7 separate regions of the Homo sapiens genome follow, and regions 2, 3, 4, 5, 6 and 7 are each linked to region 1. Evidence: promoter capture Hi-C in 16 types of primary human blood cells and fetal thymus (Javierre and others, 2016). All regions are on one chromosome and are shown on one strand. The core of a region is centred on a gene start or on the middle of the fragment in contact, and the rest is flanking DNA. Distances in the headings are between cores, read along the strand shown.

Region 1 (2,506 bases), core at 4-2,503:
CAGGACCTTCCGGCCCAGGGAGCAGCCGACGGGCACCCCCGAACGCTGGGGCACGGAATTTCAACGGGGCGACCAGAGCGGAGCTCGCGGCTCGAGGCTCGCGGCTGAGTACGAAGACGGGACCCGAGGACCTGTACATCGCTCGAGGGGAACCTGTCCTGGGCTCTGGTGCACACATAGTATGCGTTCTGGGCTGGCTTGGGTTGGGCCAGGTAGGGGAGACCTGGCTGGGTACGAGGCGCCGTCCAAGCCTTCCGGCCGTGGGCCGGGCGGTCGCGGCGCCTTTGCGCACAGTGGCCACTTGGGGTCGCACTTTATGCCTGTTTGAGCCTCTCCGCGGCGGGCTGACGCCGGGATCTGCTTAATCGTTACAAAACGTTCAAACAAAAACAGGGCCGGCTCCCCAGCAGTGGAGAGCTACTCGGAGCACCGTCCCGGGCCGGCCTCGGCCCCGAGGCTCCGGGGGCTCAGGATTCCGTGCGTGTGGCGGGGAAGAGGAATTCAGAGCCTTTGGGCTGCTGCTTTTCCCGTCGCCTTCACTGTGAACATTGTGCGGTGGGGTGAACGCGGGGAGCGGCGGGGCCAGTGGAGTCGAACCTCAGGGCTCTGCGACTGCACCCGCCAGGAGGGGCCCTCGCTTGGCCTGAGAAAGGTCCCCTGAGGTTAAGAGTTGGGTCTGAACACAACTCTCGGAGCCTCGAGCCCGCCCTCCCCAACATACAAATACGCGCAGATCTCCAGAAACAGGAACGCACGACACACACGGCCAGAAGCCGCGAGGACACACAGAGCGTCGCCCACTGGGCGGGGGCCGCTTGGGAACAAAGGGCCCAGGAGGCGTTGTCCCGGCGCTCATTCTGAGCCTCCTTGGGGGTGACACGGGATGGGGGTGGGGTGCAAAGGGAACTGAGGGAGGAGAGTGCGCGAGGAGGGGAAAGCGGTGATTTGGCCTAGAGGTGGGGCGCGCACTCCAGGCGAGCGTGCGTGGGCCGGGACCTGCAGGGTACGGGGGTGGGCCCAGGCTGGCCGTCCCACTCCGCTCCAGCGCTCCGCCAGGCCTCCGCCGCTCCGGGGCCGCTCGGGCCGCCAGTCAGCTGACGCGGGGGGCGGGGGAGCTGTCAGGCGCGCCCCGCCCTGCGCCGCTGGGCCGCGGAGGCCGTGCAGCTATTGGCCCGCGCACCGGGCCGCCCGGGCCCCCGCACCCCAGTGACATCAGGAGGCGATAAAAGGCTGCGGCGCCGCCGGATCCAGCACAGCTGCACCGCCGAGCTGCGAGCGGCTGCGAGCGAGAGAGCGTAAGAGCAAGAGAGCTAGAGAGCGAGCAACGGGCACTCGCCCCACGCCTCCCCTCAGCCCCACCGCGCGCTCCGCTTGCCTCTCCACCCCGCCCGACTCTACCCGGCCCGGTCCCTGCGCGGGCACAGCCCAGAGCTCTGGGGCGGTGCAGGCAGCCTCGGGACTCTCCGGCGCGCCGCCGCGTCCCCAGACAAAGGCTTGGCCGGCGGCCCCGGCCCGCTGCGCCCTCGCTCCCCGCCTCCCCAGCTCTTCTCCGCTCTTCCCCCCCGCGCTTGGCTCGGCGCGCTCCGGCCGGCCGCAAAGTTTCCCGGGCGGCAGCGGCGGCTGCGCCTCGCTTCAGCGATGGCCGCGGAGCTGAGCATGGGGCCAGAGCTGCCCACCAGCCCGCTGGCCATGGAGTATGTCAACGACTTCGACCTGCTCAAGTTCGACGTGAAGAAGGAGCCACTGGGGCGCGCGGAGCGTCCGGGCAGGCCCTGCACACGCCTGCAGCCAGCCGGCTCGGTGTCCTCCACACCGCTCAGCACTCCGTGTAGCTCCGTGCCCTCGTCGCCCAGCTTCAGCCCGACCGAACAGAAGACACACCTCGAGGATCTGTACTGGATGGCGAGCAACTACCAGCAGATGAACCCCGAGGCGCTCAACCTGACGCCCGAGGACGCGGTGGAAGCGCTCATCGGCTCGCACCCAGTGCCACAGCCGCTGCAAAGCTTCGACAGCTTTCGCGGCGCTCACCACCACCACCATCACCACCACCCTCACCCGCACCACGCGTACCCGGGCGCCGGCGTGGCCCACGACGAGCTGGGCCCGCACGCTCACCCGCACCATCACCATCATCACCAAGCGTCGCCGCCGCCGTCCAGCGCCGCTAGCCCGGCGCAACAGCTGCCCACTAGCCACCCCGGGCCCGGGCCGCACGCGACGGCCTCGGCGACGGCGGCGGGCGGCAACGGCAGCGTGGAGGACCGCTTCTCCGACGACCAGCTCGTGTCCATGTCCGTGCGCGAGCTGAACCGCCACCTGCGGGGCTTCACCAAGGACGAGGTGATCCGCCTGAAGCAGAAGCGGCGGACCCTGAAGAACCGGGGCTACGCCCAGTCTTGCAGGTATAAACGCGTCCAGCAGAAGCACCACCTGGAGAATGAGAAGACGCAGCTCATTCAGCAGGTGGAGCAGCTTAAGCAGGAGGTGTCCCGGCTGGCCCGCG
Region 2 (2,506 bases), core at 3-2,502, 350 kb after region 1:
GCTTTGGCAGGGAAAACTCTCCAGTCTGGGTTGAGTTCTGAGATTCTGAGTTGACCATTTTGTAAGTCCCAGTGGTGGGTTTGCTGCTAGAGTCCTAGGGCAGGCTGGCCTGGTGTCTGGGTCAGAATGTGTGCAGGTCTGGTACCTGGGTCCACAGGGACCTGCTTAAAGCTGAGTGTATGGGGATCGGGCCTGGATCCTGGGTCCATAAGAGCCAGCCTGGTGCTGAGATGGGCCTTGAGCCTGAGTCATCAGGGGATGGCCTTTTGTTGGAATAGACTTGCCACCTGGGTTCGTGGAGATAGTCCTGGAACTTGAGTCTTTGCAGGGCTGGCTTGGTACTGGGGTGGGCCTAGAAAGTGAGTCTGCAGGAGTGAACCTAGTTTCTGGGTCTACAGTTGCTGGTCTAGTGCCTGGGGCCACTGGGGCCAGCCTGGAGTCTGGGGCTACAGGGGCTGACCTGGAGCCTGGGGTTATGGCAGCTGGCCTAGAGCCTGGGGCTGCTGGAACCAGCCAGACGTCTGAGGCTTCATGGGCCAGCCTAGAACTGAGATCTGCAGGTGTTGTTCTGGCACTGAGGAGGTCCTAGAAGGTGGGTCCTTGGGTGTCATTATGGGGCTGTAGAGAATGGCCTGGAGCCTGGAGCAATGGGTCTGGTCTGACAGTAGGGTAGGCCTGGAGGCATGATCCATGGGTGCTGACCTAGAGTCTGGGGCTGTGGAGGCTGGCCTAGTGCTGAATTTCATTGAAGCTGGCCTGGTGCTGGGGTTTGTAGCAAAGCCAGGTGCTTATTTCACTTTCCCTCCCACATGTGGAGGTTATCTCTCCATGTTGTGCTGCCCAGGCTTAAGGGAGGGGTGACTCAGATAATGTGAAGCTGTCCTTCCTAGCCTCTTCAATGTGTCAGTTCTTATTTCTTTGCTACTCCAAGTTGCTGTAATCTCTCACCTGGGTTTCCTTAGCTCTTATGAAATTATTTTTGTGCAAGGATAAATTGTCCAAATTGATGTTCCTCCTAGGGGATGAGTGCTGGAAAGTCCTATTCTGTCATCTTGCTGATGTCACTCTCCCTATACATTTTAGTTTCTTCATTTTTTGTATCACTTCTTGTTCCAAATGATATGCCTCTCTGCTCATAGATTACATATGATTAATAATATTTAGAGAAAGCAATTAATTTGATGGTTTTAAAATTTTATTTATTGAAGAAGTATATTTTGGCCGTGGAAACTTTGAGGAACATTTGCTGTTGTTTGGGAGGAAAGAGGTTATTCATTCATTCATAGTGCAATGCATGCATATAAGACGTACTTATTAAAGAGTGCCTTTTAAGCTATTATTAATGTTGTTCATATAGTAACATATTAATAGTAATAATCACGCTGGGCTAGTATATGAAGAATGTGAGCTGTAAGAAAGTCATTACTGGGTTCATGTTCTAGCAGTTAGAAACCGTCTCTGAGTAAGGTACTAAATTTCTCCAGATTTGAATTGTGTCATCTGTAGGATCAGAAGGTTAGACCTATCTTGCCAGTGTGAATGAGAATTAAAATGATATGCCATGGTTCAAAGGCATGCAGCAGGCATTCAACATATGTGTATATTAAACATATATCTTTCTACTTTTCTTAAAATCCCATTAATTTTTTTAGTTAAGTCTTTTTGATTTCTCCATACAGATAAATTCATCTGCAAGGAGGGACAATTTTAGCTTTGCTTTATTAAAAGTTAAACATCTTTTTTTTCCTTATCTTATTGTGGATACTAGAACTTGTAGAACAATAATAAACTATAATGATGTCAGTCTACTTTTTCTACTGTTTTGCCTCATTGGGAATGATTTTATTATATTTTAATAAGGTACAATTTTGTTGTCAAACTCTGGTAGCATTATCATAGTCAACATTTTTTCCTATTTTTACTTTAACAAGGGTTGTTTATCTTTTTGTTTTCCTAATGAGGAATGTATGTTGACTCTTGTTATCTGTTTTTTTCATCAGTTTCCAAAATAGTCGTCTTTTTTTTTTGGTCTTTTTCTTTTTCTTTTTTTTTCCCTACTAAGTTGAATAATTGAGACTGCTAATGCATAACCATCTTTTAATTACTGGCGGCAACTGTACCTGTTCTATTTGTTAATAATAAACATAAAATGTTATTCTCCTTATCGTCTAGTCACTGGTCTTATAGCAGTCCATCTGTCTTCTCTCTCTGTTGTCTACATCTCATGTTTTTTTGCACAGTGCTTTTAGGGGGAGGGAGAAAATGGCAAGGATGCCCACTTGCAAGTGCACATGGAGGGAGATTGCCACAGGACTAGCTGGGCATTTAGAGAGATAAACCCACAAGTTCCTGGTCCCTGTTATTAGGAGATTTGGAGGCCTCTGGGTGTCTGTTCTCTTATGCCATTCTGTCCCCTGCAAATTGCTGCTGCAGCAGCCTCTGACCAGCTGCCAGGCACCTGACTTCATGTTCCTCTGACCACAGAGGACCAAAGCCATGTCTGCCC
Region 3 (2,506 bases), core at 5-2,504, 330 kb after region 1:
TGTGTACACATGAATTCGTGTGTGTGTGTGAAGAAATGTCTTTTTCATTGGAAGCTAATCACGCATAACTCAAGTGAAGAACAAAGCACAGATTGTTAATTTTCTCCCATAGTTCTCTCCCAGCCCATCCACCATGTGTGTACATTTTAACACACTCTTTTACAAAACTTCCCACAAACACCTTGGGGAGCGTATTCTCTAGAGACCCATGAATTCCATGCTAGGTTGTTAGCTTTATCTAGCATCTCCCAATGATGCTCATATTCATTCATCCATTCATTCATTTCATAAATTTAACATACGTATGGGGCTTCCACTATGTGTTAGACGCTATGTTAAGATTGGGGACAAGACGGATAAGGACATGGAGCTTGCATTCTAGTGGGAGGGGACAGAAAATAATAACTAACACATAAATTCAATAAGACCTAGGAAATAACATGGGCGATGGGATAGGGAAGTAACTGGGGATGAGAAGAGCTGTATCAACTCAAGTGATCAGGGGAGGCTGGTGTGGCGAGGTGATGTTTAGGCTGAGATGCTCTGAGTGAAGTTCTTGGGGAGGATGATTGTGGCACAAACTGGATCAGGCCATTGACTATCCCAGGTTCAGAACTTAATACTATAGCTGTGTCTTGCTGCTGTGCTAAAGAACCGCTCCTGGCTGTGAATATGAGGCTAGTGAGAGAAGTAGTTCTGAAATTCTTATTGAGAATCTAAAGTTTTGTACTCTCTCAATAGAAAAGGTATGTACCCACGTGCTTATGAATACTTACAATTTCAGGGGGTTAATGACACGTTTAATGAAGCTTTTTTTCTTGACTATTGATTTAGAAACCCAACTACCAACATTAGTCATAGTCTTCATGGCTTATGTGAATTCCTGGTGAGGATTTGTGGAAGGGGAGCTGGGGAAGAATGGGGGATTACTTGCTAATCACTTCAGGTGGATTGATAGTGTAGTAGGTTAGATAATTGTTCCCAATGCTTCACTCTCCCTAGTATTAGTGTCTAGCCACTCCCTTGCTACGGCCTTACAGTGGGCAGAATGTACCGTCTCACCTCTTGACATTGGCCTTGTGACTTTATTGGGCCATTACTGGGCACTGTGTTTGTGTGGTTGGGCTTTCCCTCTGCATTTCTGCCATCACCTGAAAAGAACATACCCTCAGTGGCTGCTGCCCTTTCAGCCTGGTCTCAGGATGAGGCTGGATCCACACCCCTTTGTCCTGCAGCTTCAAGCAGAGCCACCCCAGGGAACCAATTCTAGATCAGATGAACACAGTCAGCCTATAAATTTGTGTACATGAGAATGAAAGTGGAGTTGGAAGGCAGTGAGTTTGGGGCTGGTGTGTTACATAGCATCTTTGTGGCAGGAACTGCCTAACATAGGTTTACATGTAACAACCATATATATCACCTGAAACATACTGAGCGTGTGTGGAGTTCTGAACTTAAATGGTGCCTATAAATGGCCCAGGGGATCCCACATGAGCACAACTGTCTGATTAAGCCATCTTCATTTCACAATGCTGGAATGATGTCTGCACTTTTTGTATTCCTTGTAAAATTTCTATTGCACAAATTACAGGATGAAAAAAACAAAGTGGGAGAGGAAAGTGAGAGGGGTGAAAGAGAGATCAATTTTGTCCTATACTGCAGAAAGTTTGGAGAAGCTAAGGGCTAAGATAAAAGCTTTGGCTACTGCGGAAAAGGGAAGAAAATACATAAAGAGGGAAATTGAACTAATATGTATTGGGTGCCACATACCATGCCAAATGCTTTACATACATTGCTTGACTGAATTCTGTTCAAAAACAAATAAATAAACCAACAAATCCTTATAACACATCATGATGCCATTTCACAGATAGAAAAACTGAGGCTCAGAAGGTTTAAATAAATTTTTCTTGGTTACTCTGATGTGGATACTAGGTTTCAAATCTAGCTCTTGTCTACAAAAGTCATGCCCTGCCCATGAGTTGATATCATTTCCCTATGAGGATGAGCAGCTTAGCATTTTACTGGGGGCAGAGTACATGCAAAATTTCATGGGGCTAAGAAGGGACAGGGCAGTATAGATGTACACTATTTTTAGAGTTGAAACCTTTGAAGAGGAAAAGAAAGAGAGTGGGTGGATGGTAGCTTGAGCAGATAGGCACTGGAATTCAGATTTAATTAACTGAGCATATCCAAAAATATTGAATTGTCACAGTACCTACCTTCAGATGTGGCATTGGGTTACTGATTACTTTCTTTTCTATTTTGATCTATACACCTGTCTTATCCCTCAGACTTGAAGACAAGGGTCATTAACTTTTCTTAAATAGGCAATATGTGCACAGGGTGACAAATTCAGGTAGTATAATAAGCTGTAGTGAAAAGTAAGTCTCCCTTCTCCTCCTGTCCCCAAGTCCCACATCTTGAGTTAACCACTATTATCAGGTAAGGGGGATTTTTCAACTTTCCATGTAAGTTTGAGAACTTGGAAGCCTTGTTACTTTAG
Region 4 (2,506 bases), core at 5-2,504, 310 kb after region 1:
GTTTACAATGATATATTTCACATGATGGCTGTTATGTTAAAATACAATAAAATCTTATACATGTCTAGAATTTTTAAAAATGGTGATTTGGAAAGATACACACTAAATTGGAAACAGTGCTTATCTCTAGGAAAAGGAAGGAGGGAAAACAGCTGTCAAATGGGACTTTTGCTCTTTAGGAATTTTTACAATTAGAATAAGTTCACATCCTACCACACAAAAGGATACACAAAAATTCTCATAGTAGCTTTGTTCATAAGAGACAAAGCCTAGAAATAACTCAAATGTCCAGTTAAGAGTAGAATGGGTTGGATGCATTGTGGTATATACACACAATGGAATACCAGGTAGCAAAGACCGTAATGAACGCAACAACATGGATTAATCTCTCAGACATAATTTTGAATAAAAGAAAATGCAAGGCAGGGCACCGTGGCTCACGCCTGTAATCCCAACACTTTGGGAGGCTGAGGTGGGTGGATCACGAGGTCAAGAGATCGAGACCATCCTGGCCAACATGGTGAAACCCTGTCTCTACTAAAAATACAGAAAAATTAGCTGGGTATGGTGGCGCATGCCTAGAGTCCCAGCTACTCGGGAGGCTGAGGCGGGAGAATTGCTTGAATCTGGGAGGCGGAGGTTGCAGTGAGCCTGGGCAACAGAGTGAGACAGTCTCAAAAAAAAAAAAAAAAAAAAATCCAAAAAGGTGTTTACAGTGTGATTTTATTTATAGAAAATTTAAAGACAGATGAAACCGTTGAATGATGCTGTAAGTCAGCATATTGGCTATCTTTGGAAATCTGAAAGATATACTCCAAATCATAGACCAATCGGGTGAAAGCACAGGGGAACCCTCTGGAGTGCTGAAAAGTTCGACTTGATTTGTGTGGTAGTTACGTGCATACATATGTAAGAATTCATTGAATCATACACTTAAGATTTGCGTACTCTGTAAGTTGTATCTGCATAAAAAGAATACACTCATATTACTGAATAAACTGAATAAATAACAAGAAAACTAAAACAAAAGGATTAAAGATAAAATGAAAAGTTTCTCATGAAAAATAAAGTCTATAAAGATGTGCTTTTCACAGAGTTTTGTGTCTAGATCCACTAAGTTAAAAAAATCTATAAAAATTGGTTTAAATGATGATATACCCCTATTCTACAGTACAGAAGCATAATAGAAAGTACCTCCCTAAAATCAAATGGCAGGATTACTGTGATGAAAATCTATCTAAAGATAGCTACAGTATCAAAAATTATAAAAATGCATATATAACAAATAATATTAGAGAGGCACAAATTGAGATAATCAAATAATAGAGTGACAGAAATGCAAAATATGCATGTATAAGATAACTAAAAGCATAGGTAGTATAGGAATAAATACACTATTAAGATCAAGGCACTGAGTGAATGAATAGATTAAACTGAAATAGAATCAAATAAAATTTTTAAAGATAAAAATACATGGTTTGAAATTATCCCCTCAATTGACATAATGAAGAACATATATGAAAAAAAAAAAACAAAAGAAAATTAGGTAACTTGGAGATATATGTGAGTACCTCAAAGATAAAAGAAAGCTATTTAAAACAACTTGGGATAAGCAGGTTGTTTATAAAGGAAAGAATTGTACTGACAGCAAACTTCTTAACAGCAATCAGAAATTCCAAAATACTGTCTTATAATACCCTCAATGGGATGAGAGAAAATTTGCCATTATCCCAGAATCTTATATCCAGCTGAAGTATCATTTCAGTATGATGGTGAACTATAGATATTGTCATAGAAACAAAGACTAAGTGAACTTACCACTTACAGATGTTCCCTGGAAGAGATACTAAAGATTACATTTCAGGAAAAATAAGAATCGAATTCATAAGGACAGAGAGGAGCAGAAGAAGCACTGATAATCATTGACATTAGGAAACTTCTTTCTTTATTTATTTTTAGTTAATTTATTTTTTATTGAGACAGGGTCTCACTCTGTCACCCAGGCTGGAGTGCAGTGACACCATCTTGGCTCACTGCAACCTCTGCCTCCAGGGCTCAAGTGATCCTCTCACCTCAGCCTCCCAAGTAAAATTTTTAAAGACCACAGGAGTGTGCATTCATGCCCAGCTAAGTTTTGTATTTTTTGTAGAGACAGGGTTTCACCGTATTGCCCAAGTTGGTCTTGAACTCCTGGGCTCAAGTGATCCACGTGCCTCGCCCTCCTAAAGTGCTGGGATTACAGGCATGAGCCACCTTGCCCAGCCTATGTTAGTTAACTTATAACTAGATCTATAGAAGCATTGATAGTATGAAATAAAAATAACAATGACTGCATTGAGTTCTACAAATAGCAGGTAAAATAGAATGGGACATTTGGAGCTGGAGGATTCCAAGTTCTTAAATTGTTTTGAACAAGCATTGAGATATTAATCACTTTATCCTTCCTAAGCCACTTGTTCATATTAAATATTTGAAGTATCCATTCAGAATTAATAAAAGAACATTA
Region 5 (2,506 bases), core at 5-2,504, 290 kb after region 1:
CTGCGTAATACAGAGGTATCTCCTAGTGTGGGAAATGGACAGATGGTGGTGATGCTTTAGTGCACCAGCTCACTTTCCAGTTATGTTCTCTTTCTCTGGGAGAGAGAGACAGGGAGAAAGAGAGAGGGAGTTGAGGGAGAAAAAAGAGGTGGATGACATGCAGCATGAGCTGTGCACTAGTTGTGGAGAATACGACTGCCTGTTGGTCCACGGCAAATTCTAAATTAAAAAACAAACAGGGCCGGGTATGGGGACCCACGCCTGTAATTCCAGCACTTTGGGAGGCTGAAGTGGGAGGATCACTTGAGGCCAAGAGTTTGTGACCAGTCTTGGCAACAAAATGAGACCCCATCTCTATTTAAAAAAAAAAAAAAAAAAGAAAAGCCAGGAGTGGTGGCACATGCCTGTGATCCTAACTATTCAGGAGACTGAGGCAGGAGGATTTCTTGAGCCTGGTTCCAGGTTAGAGTGAATTAGGATCACATTACTATACTTGAGCCTGGGTGACAGAGTGAGATCCTGTCTCTAAGAAAAAAAATTAAAAAAGAACCCCTCCAAATCTCTTTAAGAAACTTGTTTTATGCCACAAATAAATTTGTGAAACACTATTCAATATGACAGTAATTCAATGTTAGACTCCTAAATAAACAACAAAATATCCAGTTGGCTACTAATTTTATATATATATATATATATATATATATATATATATATATATATATATATATAAAAGAATTTTCTACCCTTCTGTCCATACCCTGCAGTTTCATATCACACAATGATCTGAAATTCTAAGAAATTCTCCATTAAAGGAACCACTTTACATTTGTTTAAGCCAGTGTTTCTGCAGTTGAATTTGGCTGAAAAGATTTTTTTCAGCCTCACTTTGTGGGAAAGGTGGGAAGAAGAGCTCATTAGCAGTGAAGGGTGATAGGCAGTTCCTCACCTGCACTCCGTAACTCCAAGAGTAGGACATCTGGTTTTCCTAGTTGAATTTTGAAATTGCACCATCCCCTTCAGGCTTCGTCTGCCAGTCATTCCCTTGAGCCCTCAGATTCTGTGCTGGAGAAGGAAGGCAGAAATAATACCACATCATCATCAAGGTTTGCAGCGTAGGAAAGCAGACAGCTCCAAGTTTACGTCATGAAGATTCTATGATGAGGCCTGTGGAGCTATGAGAACAGGATGAACAAGACACTCATCTACTGGGTGTCTGTCTACCTACTTATCCCCTTCTATTCCTTCTTTCCATGGTAATTATCGAGCCTCTAAGAGGTTAAGGATGTAGTTGAAAGTTGAATACACTCTGTTCTTATGTTCTTATGTTCTTATTCTTTTTTTTTTTTTTTTTTTTTGAGACGGAGTCTGGCTCTGTTGCCCAGGCTAGAGTGCAGTGGGGCGATCTCCGCTCATTGCAAGCTCCGCCTCCCGGGTTCACGCCATTCTCCTGCCTCAGCCTCGCGAGTAGCTAGGACTACAGGCGCCCGCCACCACGCCTGGCTAATTTTTTGTGTTTTTAGTAGAGACGGGGTTTCACCGTGTTAGCCAGGATGGTCTGGATCTCCTGACCTCGTGATCCGCCTGCCTCAGCCTCCCAAAGTGCTAGGATTACAGGCGTGAGCTACCGCGCCCGGCCCTAAATACACTCTGTACTTATTCTGAAGGCACCCATGATCTAGAGGGGGTCATAGGTAAGTAAGTAAGCCATTTTGCTCAGTTGGGTTAGATGCATGGTGGAGAGAAAAAGGGCCATGGGTGTGACAAACGCAGAGGGTTGTAGCCTACACAATCTGCAAGGTTGAAGGAAGAGTCAAGAAGACTTCCTCAAGGAAGAGCAGCCAAGATGAGTACTGAAGGATCAAGGAGTCAGCTCAGTGAAAGGAGGTGGAGATCAGGGAGTCCCAGGCAGACGCTTTTCCTGTGGCTTCTTTGAAAACTCTAGTGACAATGGCAATTCTGAACCAAGGAGGCAACTCTGGCTGAGGTGAGACTTACTTTTTATTTCCTCTCCAGTTGCTTCAGAAAACTCAGTTTTCTTGCCCGGACAAGTGCCAGATTTACAGAGCCCTTATAGCCAATTTCAGCTGGGTCCCTGCTGAGGGAGGCAGTAACCTTCTTAATGGGAATGTCTCCAACAGGAGGGGTCAGGGGCACCCAGCACTTTTCTTGTGTAAAATTAATTAAGCTCCAAGGTCAGGAGGTGATGGGTGGGCTCCTTAGAACAAATGATTTCTGTTTGAGTAAAAATGGCTTTGGGGTTCTTTCCAGATCTTGCCTAATTCAGTAATTATGTCTGCCCCATGCTTTAAGCAAACAGCAGTAAAATAAGTGTGTTTAGAGATAAGGGAAGGGGTGAGAGGAGACTCAGTTGAGCTGGGTTGGGTTTTTGTTTCAGCTGGGGCTTGCAGAAGGGCTAGGCTCATGATTCTCTGGCTGGATTTCTTGGAGGCATGCTGTGAGCATAGATATGTCCATTCTAGGAATCTTAAGCTGTGAGCTGGGTCTC
Region 6 (2,506 bases), core at 5-2,504, 270 kb before region 1:
CTCCATGCTCGGCTGTTTTCTTGGCAGCAAGACCTAGGGAGGCTCCCATGGCTGATTTTAGATTTGTTTTCAAAAACTGAAAGGAGAGAAATAATCCTAGCGAGAAAACAAAACAAAACAATAAAAAACAAACAAAACCTCTTCTAAAATGTTTCAGTCCTGAGCCTTGTCCCCACTCTGTGTGCACTTTCTGGTATTTGACCACCTTTGCCACCAGCCCCTGCTGCTGGGACCTTGAGCCAGCCCCAAAGCTCGTGAGTCCCTGTCCTCTGCCGTGGAATGGGGATTACATTATACACATCTCTGGGTTTGGGAGGTGATGGAAGGAGATGGGGGAAAGGGATGCATTTTGTAAATGAGGCCTTCTGATGATAATTTTATCATAGGCAGTAGACAAATACACTCACACGCCCCCAAATCACTAATGGGACCTCCCTCTGAAGGTGCTCCTTGCTTCTTGAGACGGGCATGATTACTCAGTAGATTCTGTGTAATTATTTAATCAAGCTCCAGCGAGTCCTCAAGTCCTCGGTGTGGAGCTGGGCTGCTGACCAGGCCCCAACCTCCCCTCCTCCTGCAGGGAGGCATAATCAGAGATGCTGAGAGGGAGGAGAAGCCCCAAGCACTTCTTTTCTTTGTGCAACAACTGGGTTGTGTGGGAGGGACAGCCGGGAGGGAGGGGGCCAGGTCACCTTGGGGCTCTCTTCAACAGTGGACGGGGCAGGAGGGGTCTTTAGAGACCTGTTTATGCTGTGCCTTTCTCTTTGAGGACACTGAGGATCAGAGAGGAAAAGCCAGCACGTCCCATGATTTCCCAACTGCAGACTTGGCTTCTGCCACTCATTCCCTCCCTCCCTCCCTCCCTTCCTCCCTTCTTTCTTTCCTTCCTTCCTTTCTTCCCTCTTTCCTTCCTTCCTTCCTTCTTTCCTTCCTTCCTTCCTTCCCTCCTCCTTCCTTCCTTCCCTCCTTCTTTCCTTCCTTCCTTCCCTCCTTCTTTCCTTCCTTCCTTCCTCTCTTCCTCCCTCCCTTCCTTCCTTCTCTCCTTCTCCTTCTTGACCCTCCTTTCCCATTGATTCCCTTCCCCTCCCCTTCCCTCCCTTTCCCTTCCCTCTCCTCCTTTCTCTCTTATAATGAAAGTACTGAACAGATGGCTGGGTGCAGTGGCACAGGCCTGTAATCCCAGCACTTTGGGAGGCTGAGGCTGGTGGGTCACCTGAGATCGGGAGTTTGAGACCAGCCTGGCCAACATGGCGAAACCTCATCTCTACTAGAAATACAAAAATTAGCTGGGCGTGGTGGTGGGCACCTGTAGTCTCAGCTACTTGGGAGGCTGAGGCAGGAGAATTCCTTGAACCCGGGAGGTGGAGGTTGTAGTGAACCGAGATGGCGCCACTGCACTCCAGCCTGAGCGACAGAGTGAGACTCCTTCTCAAAGAAAACAAACAAAGAACAAAAAAGTACTGAACAGATGCATGCATTCTCATGGTCAAACATGCAGATCATACAACAAAAGCAAAGGTCTCCCCAGATCCCTCTCTTCCCCCCCACCCAAATTCCCAATTCCCTCCTCAGAGACAACCCCAGCTCCCAGTTTGGAGACTCCCTTCAGACTTTCTGCTATGCATTCATACATTTACCTAAGTTCCTATAGAAGTTCTAGTTAGGTGTTTACTTTGGTTCATGTAAACATTCCTGACAATGCTGTCTAGACCAGTTCTCACTGTGGGGGGTGGGAAAGCGGGATGGGGAGGGAATTTTACTCCCCAGGAGACATTTGACACCATCTGAAGACATTTTTGATCATCATGGCTGGGGAGGGAGGTGCTCCTGGCATCTGGTGTGTAGAGTGCTAAAGGAGTGTTGCTAAACAGCCTGCCTTGCCCCGGACAGCCCCCAACACGAAGAATGATCCGGCCCAAAATGTCAGTAGTGCCAAGGTTGAGGAATCCTGGTCTGGAACGTTCTCAACTTGCTTTTTTCTAATAATAATAATGATTAATAATAATAATATATCTTGGAAATCTTTGCAGGTTAGGCAATATCTTTCTCTCATTCTGATGACTTCTGTGTCTTCTTTTGACTACATCACAGTCCATCCATCTCATCCCCTTTAGATTGATTTCAGGTTGTTTGTGACTTGGCGGTATTAATAGAAACATCCTTGTTATTCCCTGGTTTGGATGCTTGGGAGTGGGATTGCTATGTCAAAGGGGTAGTTATTGGTTGATTGATTTACTAAGTCCTCATATAGTGCTTCTATTTTAAATACAACAGGCACTTATTTATTATTGTTATTATTTTGAGATGGAGTCCTGTTCTGTTGCCCAGGCTGGAGCGCAGTGGCACAATCTTGGCTCACTGTAACCTCTGCCTCCCAGGTTCAAGCGATTATCCTGCCTCAGCCTCCCGAGTAGCTGGGATTATAGGCGCGCGCCAAGACGCCTGGCTAATTTTTTTGTATTTTTGGTAGAGACGGGTTTTCGCCATGTTGGTCAGGCTGGTCTCA
Region 7 (2,506 bases), core at 4-2,503, 260 kb after region 1:
CCCCTACCAGAAGCAGATGCTGGTGCCATGCTTTTTGTACAGCCTGTAGAATTGTGAGCCAAATATACCTCTTTTCTTTATAAATTACCTACTTTTGGGTATTCTTTTATAGCATTGCAAATCAGACTGAGGCAACCACTCAACCCTAGACTCTGAGCTCAGTGCTTGGCAAATGGTAGATACTCCATATTTTATTTTGAAAATTATTTCAATTGATTAATTAATTGATGGTCTGTCACCCACCTATATTTTTACCATTGAATTCCTTGACTGTGCATATCCCGAAGTGCTGAGAGTTGCATAAGCATGCAGAATTTCACACTGTTTTCTGATTAAGCCAGTTCTTTGTTATAAAAGGGAAGTAAAGAATTATATCCCCTCAATAGAGATATCCCAATAAAGCATCTTACCCTTCCCAATACTCTGGTCAATGGGTGTAAGCTCTACTTCTGTTTTTCACAAACCTAGTTAGAGTAGAGCTTGAATGACTGACAGACTTCAGGCACTTTCCAGAGCACATCCCACCACCAAGAGAAGGAGAGACATTTTTAACTGAATCCCAGATGGGCCACTTTTAAGCGCCATTGATGGGCAAGGGATTGCTTCTCTGATCCCCTGTTTTTCCATGGGTAAATTTACATAGTCAAGTTCACTTTCCAGAATTGTGAAGACTAAATGAAGTAATATATGTAAAGAGCCAGAACAGTTAGATTGTTTTTTTTTCTTCAACTTTTATTTTAAGTTCAGGGGTACATGTCCGGGATGTTCAGGTTAGTTACCTAGCTAAATGGGTGCCATGGTGGTTTGGTGCACAGATCAGCCCATCATCTAGGTATTAAGCCCAACATCCATTAGCTATTGTTCCTGATGCTCTTCCTTCCCCCACGACCTACCCCATCCTGACAGGCCCCAGTGTCTGTTGTTCCCCCTCATATGTCCATGTGTTAGATTTTTTGTGCCTTTTTTTTTTGTATCCCTCTTCCATACACAGTAGTCATGAATGGGCAAGAAGTAAACTTTAGCCTTGAGAGTGTGGGGGAGCCACAGGCTGGAGATGCAGTATTGTGTGTCCACCTTGTGCCCTTAGTCTAATGTCCTAGTATTTCAGTTACTGTCAGGGAAACCAGTCAGGGGGGACTGGGCACACAGGACACTTCATTTCTAGGAGTGGAGTACCCCTTAATGTTCTAAATGGACTGACACTAGATCAAGGAAAGAAACCAACAGAACTCTTTTTAGATTAGAGTCTCAAAGACTCAGACCAATGCCATGTGGGTTCATTTAGTAAAGTTTGAGCCCTTTACTTAACAGGCTACAAATTGACCTAAGTATCTTAACAGCAAGCACAGGATTTACCCCAGAAAAAGGTTTTGATAAATGATCGATGTATAAAGAAGCACAAATAACAGAGATTCTTTAGTGATTATAGATGGAATTTTTTTGAACTAAAATTGGTGCCCGCTTCTTCAGAGTACATACTTTAGTTACTTGATACACTATTAGACACTCTATCTAAAATTGGAATCTTTTGTTCTAATTACAAGCAACCTCATCAATTGATTAGAGAAACAACTTCAAACAAAGCAAACACAAATGCAGCAACTTCTTAATTTGTCAATGGAAGATAATGGCCTTGTTGGAGGACTGTTTTGAAGAGGTTCTCAGACTTGAGTGTTCATAGAAAATACCTGGGGAACTTGTTGACCTCTACCATGCCCAGACCCATCCCTAAAGAGTCAGATTCTTAGCCAGGTGTGGTGGCTCACACCTGTAATCCCAGCACTTTGGGAGGCCAAGATGGGCAGATCACCTGAGGTCAGGAGTTAAAGACCAGCCTGGCCAACATGATGACACCCCCGTCTCTACTAAAAATACAAATATTAGCCTGCCATGGTGGCAGTCACCTGTAATCCAAGCTACTCGAGAGGCTGAGACAGGAGAATCACTTAAGCCCAGGAGGTGGAGGTGAGCCAAGCTCACACCACTGCACTCTAGCCTAGGTGACAAGAGCAAAACTCCGTCTCAAAAAAAAAAAAAAATTAGATTCGGAAGGTCTTGGATGTGGCCTTTGAATCTCCACACTCATCAACCTTACCCTGGTAATTCAGAGGAAAAATAGCCCAGGGACCACAATTTAGAGGCAAATGGTTAGTGATTGTGGTAGTTGGAGTAATGCTCCGTAGAGAGGCCCCACATCCTAATCCTAGGACTTGTAAAAATGTTACCTTATTTGGCAAAATAAGATTAAAGTTACAGATGCAGTTAAACTTGCTAATCAGTTGACTTTAAAATGAGATTACCCTAGAATGTCTTCATGAGCCCAGTATGATCAAATGAACACTTAAAAATGGAGAAACTTTCCTGGCTGTGATCAGAAAGAGATATGTCGAGGGAAGAGGATTCAGAAAGATGTGATGTTGCTGGCTTTGAAGACGGAAGGAGTTAATGAGTCAAGGCATGTGGGTGGCCTCTAGAAGCTGGAAAAGAGAAGGAAATGGATTCTCAC

Evidence for each region. The method cuts DNA at HindIII sites, captures the fragments that hold promoters and counts their contacts. A CHiCAGO score of 5 or more calls a contact.
Region 2: a contact is called between a fragment that was not itself captured here and the fragment with the promoter of MAFB in region 1, in 3 of 17 cell types (monocytes, M0 macrophages and M1 macrophages). The highest score is 10.6, in monocytes.
Region 3: a fragment that was not itself captured here is called in contact with the fragment with the promoter of MAFB in region 1 in 1 of 17 cell types (monocytes); the score reaches 7.4 in monocytes.
Region 4: a fragment that was not itself captured here is called in contact with the fragment with the promoter of MAFB in region 1 in 1 of 17 cell types (monocytes); the score reaches 6.3 in monocytes.
Region 5: a contact is called between a fragment that was not itself captured here and the fragment with the promoter of MAFB in region 1, in 1 of 17 cell types (monocytes). The highest score is 5.3, in monocytes.
Region 6: a contact is called between a fragment that was not itself captured here and the fragment with the promoter of MAFB in region 1, in 4 of 17 cell types (M1 macrophages, M2 macrophages, M0 macrophages and 1 more). The highest score is 7.3, in M1 macrophages.
Region 7: a contact is called between a fragment that was not itself captured here and the fragment with the promoter of MAFB in region 1, in 1 of 17 cell types (monocytes). The highest score is 5.9, in monocytes.

Annotation. Positions count from the first base shown.
Region 1 is chr20:40,687,983-40,690,488 of GRCh38, reverse strand. It overlaps MAFB (MAF bZIP transcription factor B), which reads left to right and starts at 1,253. Exons shown (of 1, transcript NM_005461.5): 1 at 1,253-2,506. The coding sequence starts at 1,639. RefSeq lists enhancers at 1-62, 63-1,040 and silencers at 991-1,300, 1,321-1,390. The HindIII fragment of the contact is 7,144 bases long and covers 1-2,008 here.
Region 2 is chr20:40,340,236-40,342,741 of GRCh38, reverse strand. No RefSeq gene overlaps it. Among named protein-coding and RNA genes, the nearest start is that of LINC01370, 340 kb to the right of the region's middle. The HindIII fragment of the contact is 3,607 bases long and covers 1-2,506 here.
Region 3 is chr20:40,356,267-40,358,772 of GRCh38, reverse strand. No RefSeq gene overlaps it. Among named protein-coding and RNA genes, the nearest start is that of MAFB, 330 kb to the left of the region's middle. The HindIII fragment of the contact is 886 bases long and covers 812-1,697 here.
Region 4 is chr20:40,377,702-40,380,207 of GRCh38, reverse strand. No RefSeq gene overlaps it. Among named protein-coding and RNA genes, the nearest start is that of MAFB, 310 kb to the left of the region's middle. The HindIII fragment of the contact is 2,861 bases long and covers 1-2,506 here.
Region 5 is chr20:40,397,441-40,399,946 of GRCh38, reverse strand. No RefSeq gene overlaps it. Among named protein-coding and RNA genes, the nearest start is that of MAFB, 290 kb to the left of the region's middle. The HindIII fragment of the contact is 2,531 bases long and covers 1-2,506 here.
Region 6 is chr20:40,958,032-40,960,537 of GRCh38, reverse strand. No RefSeq gene overlaps it. Among named protein-coding and RNA genes, the nearest start is that of TOP1, 70 kb to the left of the region's middle. The HindIII fragment of the contact is 7,671 bases long and covers 1-2,506 here.
Region 7 is chr20:40,427,199-40,429,704 of GRCh38, reverse strand. No RefSeq gene overlaps it. Among named protein-coding and RNA genes, the nearest start is that of MAFB, 260 kb to the left of the region's middle. The HindIII fragment of the contact is 2,522 bases long and covers 1-2,506 here.